Regions from separate parts of the Homo sapiens genome. Here region 1 is linked to region 2. Evidence: promoter capture Hi-C in 16 types of primary human blood cells and fetal thymus (Javierre and others, 2016). All regions are on one chromosome and are shown on one strand. Each heading gives the region's core, a stretch centred on a gene start or on the middle of the fragment in contact. The rest is flanking DNA. Distances are from core to core; before and after follow the strand shown.

What was found. Contacts are between HindIII fragments. The CHiCAGO score rates a contact against its expected background, and 5 or more counts as called.
Region 1: a contact is called between a fragment that was not itself captured here and the fragment with the promoter of KIAA1191 in region 2, in 7 of 17 cell types (non-activated CD4 T cells, naive CD8 T cells, naive B cells and 4 more). The highest score is 7.2, in non-activated CD4 T cells.

The regions. Positions count from the first base shown.
Region 1 is chr5:176,643,045-176,646,758 of GRCh38, forward strand. EIF4E1B (eukaryotic translation initiation factor 4E family member 1B) reads left to right here. Exons shown (of 9, transcript NM_001099408.2): 4 at 38-222; 5 at 595-690; 6 at 1,332-1,395; 7 at 2,086-2,199; 8 at 2,333-2,472; 9 at 2,822-3,600. The coding sequence ends at 2,936. Among named protein-coding and RNA genes, the nearest start is that of TSPAN17, 2.6 kb to the right of the region's middle. RefSeq lists enhancers at 400-1,041, 1,042-1,681, 2,263-2,773, 3,044-3,338. The HindIII fragment of the contact is 4,593 bases long and covers 1-3,551 here.
Region 2 is chr5:176,360,015-176,363,407 of GRCh38, forward strand. It overlaps KIAA1191, which reads right to left and starts at 1,750. Exons shown (of 9, transcript NM_020444.5): 1 at 1,588-1,750. RefSeq lists an enhancer at 1,506-1,825. The HindIII fragment of the contact is 14,901 bases long and covers 1-3,393 here.

The DNA of each region.
Region 1 (3,714 bases), core at 5-2,504, 280 kb after region 2:
AGCTCACAACCCATCCTGACTCCTTTTTTTGGCTCAGGTGAGTGAAGCTGAGGGTGGAATCCGAGAGTGGGAGGAGGAGGAGAAGGAGGAGGAGGCAGCAGAGAGGACGCCCACAGGAGAAAAGTCTCCAAACTCTCCCAGGACTTTGCTGTCTCTGAGAGGGAAGGCCCGGACGGGGGGCCCCATGGAAGTCAAGCTGGAGCTGCACCCCTTGCAGAACAGGTAGGCAGGAGCCTGCGAGTGGAACACAGCCCCTTGCTTTCAGGCCAGCCTCTGTGCTGGCAGCGTGGCCTTGGGCAACCCCGCCTCTCTTGGCCCTAGCTCTTCATCCGTGGGAGGCCAGGGCTGACCTAAGCCTTGGGCCCTGTTGGCCCTTCCAGCCCTAACCCCGCAGAGACTGTGGGTCAAACACCCCCACTCCTCCCCTGCCCTTCAGGACAACTGATTTCATTCACCTGAGAGGGGAATGCTGTGCCCCAAATCTCATCTCCCAGTTCGCCCTTGAAGGGGAGGGTCCTCCCTGTCAGTCCAGGTGCCCCGGGGGTGGACTTGGCTCTCTGCTTCCTCCTGGCTGCCTCCCCCTTCCCCTACCAGGTGGGCTCTGTGGTTCTTCAAGAATGACCGCAGCCGGGCCTGGCAGGACAACCTGCACCTGGTCACCAAGGTGGACACTGTGGAGGACTTCTGGGCGTGAGTGTCTGTCCCCAGTGGGGCTAGAGTTGGGGGGCTCTGAGCTCTGGGCTCCCTCTCTCCGGGTTGAGCCAGCCCTCCCTAGGGCCTTTCAGCCTTTGTGAGGGCTGGGGCTTTGTGGGTTCTGCCCAGGGGGTATAGGGCACAACCACCCCCCACCCCACCACCTTCTTTGGGCTCAGGGAGAGAGCCTGGGGAGCAGGAGAAGCAGGAAGCTGACCTTGACTCGGCCACTCCAGGGCTTTGTGACCTGGGCAAGTTCCTTCCCCTCTCTGAACCTGTCTCAGCTGCAAAGGGAGGACTCGGCTGCCTCAGTGTCCGGGTGCTCACGGGAGTGGCTCTGAAAAGGGCTACACAAGCCCTAGGGAGGGTGAGAAGGCCTCGGCTGTAGCTGGAGGGGGGAGCACCAGGGGGTCTAAAACCCTCCCCAGGGGTTGGCTCAGCCTTCACTGGGAAGGCTCTGTGGAAAAGGTGGGTCTTGAGAGTTTGGATAAACGGGAGTGGAATCCCAGGTGGCAGGCCAGTGTAAGCAAAGGCTTGGAGGCCATGGGGTCGGATGAGGAGTTGGGAGGGCTGAACCCAGTTGGAACCAGGCCCTAAAAAGCCTTGACTTTTGGCATGGGGTCGGGGGCTCTGTCCAGGCTATACAGTCACATCCAGCTGGCCAGCAAGCTCTCCTCTGGCTGTGACTACGCCCTCTTCAAGGTAAGCTCTGCTCTCCTCTTTCCCTCCCGCAAAGGGACAAGGGGTTGATCCCTCCCGGACTCCACTGCGTTAATCCCTCAGAGGGGTGGGGGTGGGGAGCTACGGGCCACCTCTCAGCAGAGTTGTGGTTTCTGACTGGAGGAAATGCTCTACAGGAGCCCGGACAGAGTAGGTCAGGCCCAAGCCGCACCTTGGAGGACCTTAAGAGGCGGGAAGAGGGAGAGGGAGAGATTTCTGACCTGGCTCCTTAACTAGGGAAGGGCATCAGAATTGCTTGAGGACACTCATTGATGCCACACCCATCCCTGGAGGGCTGACATTGTGTTTAGAGATCTCCCCAGTGACTTCTGCCCTGCCTGGGAACCATGCAGCCAAGCCTGGGATGTCCCCCTTGCCTGCATTGGGGTCTGCCCCTGAGGCTTCCTTAATCCACCCCGATTTGAATGCTTGTCTTAAGGAACTCAGTAAAAGAGACATGCACATATACAAGGCTATACAAGGTGACCAGTGCTGTCTGTCGGGGGGAGCTGAGTGGCTGGGGGTGGAACCTGCTTGCACTGAGGGAAGGGAGGATAAGAGAATCTGGCCTACTTAGGGCCTCAGCAGAGAGCGGATAAGGCCGGGATGGTGGGTGGGTCCCCATTTCCCTTTGAACACAGGGAGGCAGTTGACTTGCCATCTGCCTTGCAGGATGGCATCCAGCCCATGTGGGAGGACAGCAGGAATAAACGGGGTGGCCGCTGGCTGGTCAGCCTGGCCAAGCAGCAGCGCCACATTGAGCTGGACCGGCTGTGGCTGGAGACGGTGAGTTGGAGGAGGAGGGTCCTCAGGGGAAGAGACGGGCTGTGTGGGTCTCATGGTGGCAGTGGTCTCAAGGATGGCAGGCCAGTCCCTATGTCCCAGCCGGTGATCTCACAACCCCCTACTTCGGGTCCAGCTGCTGTGTCTGATCGGGGAGAGCTTTGAGGAACACAGCAGAGAGGTATGTGGGGCCGTCGTCAACATCCGCACCAAGGGGGACAAGATCGCTGTGTGGACGAGGGAGGCGGAAAACCAGGCGGGCGTGCTGCACGTTGGGTGAGGAGGGTCTCTGGCACAGGGTGGGGACTTGGGTCTCTGCTAGAGGGAAGGTGGGTGGAGGGGGCTTGGCCTGCATGGGAGACCTCTGAAAGTCTCCATAGCCTCCCTCCCTTCTGCCTTGCCCACCTGTATGGAAGGTCTGGCGTTCAGATTTCTAACTTTCTCTTACGGCAGTGCAGCTCTCCTTTTGCATTAAGGGGGTCATATTTTGGGTTTCCACATGGGTAAGACACAACAGGTGTGGCTGTGGCCAGAATGAGGGTAGGAGTCTGGTGGCCTAAGTTATCTCTAGGACCCTCTGATGACTACCTGTGTCTCTTTTCCTCTGTGTCCCCCGCACCTGCAGGCGTGTATACAAAGAGCGCCTGGGCCTCTCCCCAAAGACCATCATTGGGTACCAGGCCCATGCAGACACAGCCACCAAGAGCAACTCCCTAGCCAAGAACAAGTTTGTGGTGTGAGGGGGGCCTTGGCACCCCTCCTATGTAATGGGACAGCCGCCACTGAGCCTCATTACTTTGGGGGATGGGGCGGGACTGGGGATCAGACAGCCTAGTTCTTACCTGTCCTCAAGTGAACAGGAATGCAAACACTCTTTAACATGAGTTGGGGCCTGAGCCTTAGGGGCTAGATGGGGGTAGTGGTGGCAGTCTGAGGACCTAGCTTGTCCTGGGGCCACAGGACAGCAGCAGGGTGGAAAAAACTCCTGAGGGTGGGGTGAGTCATGGCGGGGAAGGAGGGCTCTATGGTAGGCGGAGAAACCCATAGTCCAGCGTTTACTGTTTCCACCCAGGAAGGAGGTGAGGTGGCCTGAGAGACAGACTCTTCCATGGGTGGTGGGCTCAAGGGCACAGACATTCTGGAGGGTGAACGCCATCATTTGTACAGAGGGATACGTGGGTTGCTGAGGACTGAGAGAGCCTTGCAAGGCCGCTCCCCTTCTCCCCAGCTGTGACCAGGGCTGTCTGGGCCTTGCCTGCCTCAGGGCCAGACTGAAGTGGAGGTGGAGGGATGCTGGGCTAGGCCTCACCAAGGTTCTGGTAGAAGTGGTGGAAGTGGATAAACTTGATAATAAAAGCTTAAGCATCTTTCTGTTCCTGTTTTAAATAAATACTTCTGAACAAAGTTGGAATTATTTTTAAGAGGGCTTCAAACTGGAGTAAGATTCAGGTTCCCCCAAACTTTGATCTGCCTCTGTCCTGTCTTACAGGGGCTCATGTGAGATCACTGGGTACCAAG
Region 2 (3,393 bases), core at 500-2,999:
ACTCACAGCAAGCGGCTAGATACTACAGTAGGGAAATTTGTTCTTTATAGCTAACACTATAAACTATTTACAGCGTTTATCTTGTCTTTTAATCCTTGCAGCAAGATGGCAAAGCAGATATTATTTATCCCAATCCCAATTTTTTTTTTTTTTTTTTTTTGAGACGGAGTCTCACTCTGTCGCCCAGGCTGGAGTGCAGTGGCGCGATCTTGGCTCACTGCAAGCTCCACCTCCCGGGTTCACGCCATTCTCCTGCCTTAGCCTCCCAAGTAGCTGGGACTACAGGCGTCTGCCACCACGCCTGGCTAATTTTTTGTATTTTTAGTAGAGATGGGGTTTCACCGCACTAGCCAGGATGGTCTTGATCTCCTGACCTTGCGATCCGCCCACCTCGGCCTCCCAAAGTGCTAGGATTACAAGCGTGAGCCACCGCGCCCGACCCCAGTTTTTTTTTTAAGCTATCTCTTACAGAAAGGCTATCCCAAATTTAAAGAGAAGGAAACTGGCCGGGTGCGGTGGCTCACGCCTGTAATCCCAGCATTTTGCGAGACCCAGGCGGGCAGATCACTTGAGGTCAGGAGTTCGAGACTAGCCTGGCCAACATGGTGAAACCCCATCTCTACTAAAAATACAAAAATTAGCCGGGCATGGTGGCGGGCGCCTGTAATCCCAGCTACTCGGGAGGCTGAGGCAGGAGAATAGCTTGAACCCGGGAGGCGGAGGTTGCAGTGAGCCGAGATCGAGCCACTGTACTCCAGCCTGGGCGACGGAGTGAGACTCGGTCTCAAAAATAAAAATTAAAAAAATTAAAAAAATGTTAAAAATAATAATAAAGAGAAGGAAACTAAAAATCAGAGGAGTTAAGTAAATTTGTCCACGGTCACAGATAAGTGGTCCGTGCGCAAGGTAGGTAGTTTCATGCCCAGTTTACAGGGGAGTTAAAACGAGGGCCTGAGAAAGTTACTCTTGTTTTTCAGCTTGCTACACCGTCCCTCTATCCCGATAGGACTCAGACAGAGCAAACAAGTTATTGATAGTTCTTCACTAACGAGCATCGCAAAGGCCGAATTCAGCCATCCTCCCAGTCCAGGGAGCATTCCCGCCCCAGACACGTCCCCTTCCCCTTTCCCTTTCCCTGTGCCCCCACCCCCCAGCTCACCGTCCCTCTGCCTCTCCTTCACAATATACAAGACGGTGCCGCCAGGATACGAAAGGCCGGCTGCTTCACCCACCCCTCCAGGCTAAGATTAGGGCCAGGACCCTAGCCGAAGGCGGGGTGTGGGGAGATGAGGTTGAGGACAAGCCGCGGGGGCTCGGGCTGGGCTGGTCCCACGAAGCGGAGGGGAAGCCCGTACGGGAGCTGCAGGGCATTCCCGGAGAGAAGCCCCATTACGGAGACCCCAGAGAGCGGAGCCAGGGAGGCAAGAGGCGACCCAGCCGAGCTCGAAGCCGGGATGAAGGGTTAAGAGGTGCGGGGAGAGGGGAGTGGCTTGGAGGGGCCCCGAGATCGGGCCTCGCCGGAAGCGCCCCTCCTGATCGCCAGAGAACGCAGCCCCAAGGGAGGGCCCAGGCCCGCCATCTGTTCACCTGTGATCCTGCTGCCGCGGGACTGCCTGCGGCCCGGAGTCCGGCACTAAAAAGGTTCCGAGGGCCCACGTCTCCCGAGAGGCTGTGGCGCAGTCTGGACCCAAGCCATTGTGAGAGCGGCGGCGATTTCGAAGGTCCCCAAGACCCACTAGGTAGCAGTACCACCCAGCGGGCAGGCAGCACTGCAGATAAAGCCTCCGGAGACCGCGGGATCTCGCGCGAGACTTGGCCCAGCGGAGCACAGGGCATGCTGGGAGTTGTTGTCCACGATCGCGAGACCCGCCCCCTCCCCATGCCCTTCGCCGCCCAGCGAGTTGTGGAGCCGCAGCTCCGAGTGTGGAATCCGCCAGCCCCGAGAGGAAACGCCACACTTCACCACCACTTCCTCAGCGCGTGTGCTGTGCCTGGGTCCGTGACAAGCTAAGGGAAGACGGAGGTAGCATAGTAAAATGACACCCACAAACCCAAGCCCTCAAGGCTCAAAAAGGGCTGCCAAGTGCGAGCACTTGTCATCCTGTTTTTCCCACTTCACGGAGGTGAAGCTGAGACTGGGAGAGATGAGAAGTCACTTCGATTAGCAAGCGGTGCAGTGAGCACGGACTGTCTCCCAAAACAGCGGGGTTAGGCAGGGTTCGTACTAGTAGCTGAACCAAAAAAGGGAACCGACCTCACCTGCCTCCCCTAGGGAAGGCGATCCTAATATCATTTCTCTTTTACATAAAGGAGAGTGAGGCTTAGAGGCGCCAGCTGAGGTGTCAGTCACATCCTGAAGGAAGACTTCTCTTATCCCTGAAGGGTTCACAAAGAAGGCGAAGCAACGAAGTTACAGCAGAATTTGCAAAAATCTATCCACGTTTCTACCCCAGTCCAAAGCTCGCCATCAAAACTCATCTCAGGAGAGCTATGATTGGTGGTGCAGGGTGAATGTCACATTTAGATTTCAGCATTTGAGGCTTCCAGCCGTACTGGCAGAACTGAGAGGCCTTGCTCATGCGACTTGAAACTTAAGCGCTGTTTCCAGACCAGGGTGCTTGAGTGCACTAAGAATTAAAGTCTTTGATGAATTCTATAATTAGCTTATCAACAGCACAATTACATTGCAGTATAATTGTGTGTATATGTGTGCGTGCGTGTGTGTGTTAAAGGTGTTCCTTTGTTAATTTGGAGCTTTTAAAATATGCCATATTTTTTAACCTCTGTGGAAGCAAAGCTGGCACCTTGCTCTTTATCCACCACAGGAAGGGATGTATATCACCTCTCAGTCAGAAAAGGAAGAAATAGCACTTTGCACCCTTATGTAGATCATAAGGTGGGATCATCTCATTTATTTCTTAGCCACAAATACATGAAAACTTAAGACTTTCCTGGAAGTTACTATTTGATTAAAACAACTTTTTCTGGCTGGGCACGGTGGTTCAGGCCTGTAATCCCAACACTTTCAGAGGCTGAGGCGTTCGAGACCATCCTGGCCAACACGGCGAAACCCCGTCTCTACTAAAATACAAAAATCAGCCAGGCGTAGTGACAGGTGCCTGTAATCCCAGCTATTCTGGAGACTGAGGCAGGAGAATCTCTTGAACCTGGGAGACGGAGGCTGCAGTCTGCCTTGTCCTAGGTACCCCCAGTGACTGCCAAGGCTTCCACGTGTGTAGCACGAGGAGGAAGAACAGGAGAAACGACCTGAGTACAGCAGTCGGGTTCTTTTGGCTCTCCAGAGGGGTGACGCCATGTACGGCTGGCTGTAGGGTACATGGGTTGAGAGACCGCCTGTGGCTCTCAGGGCCCAGCAGGGCTACCTCTTTCCCT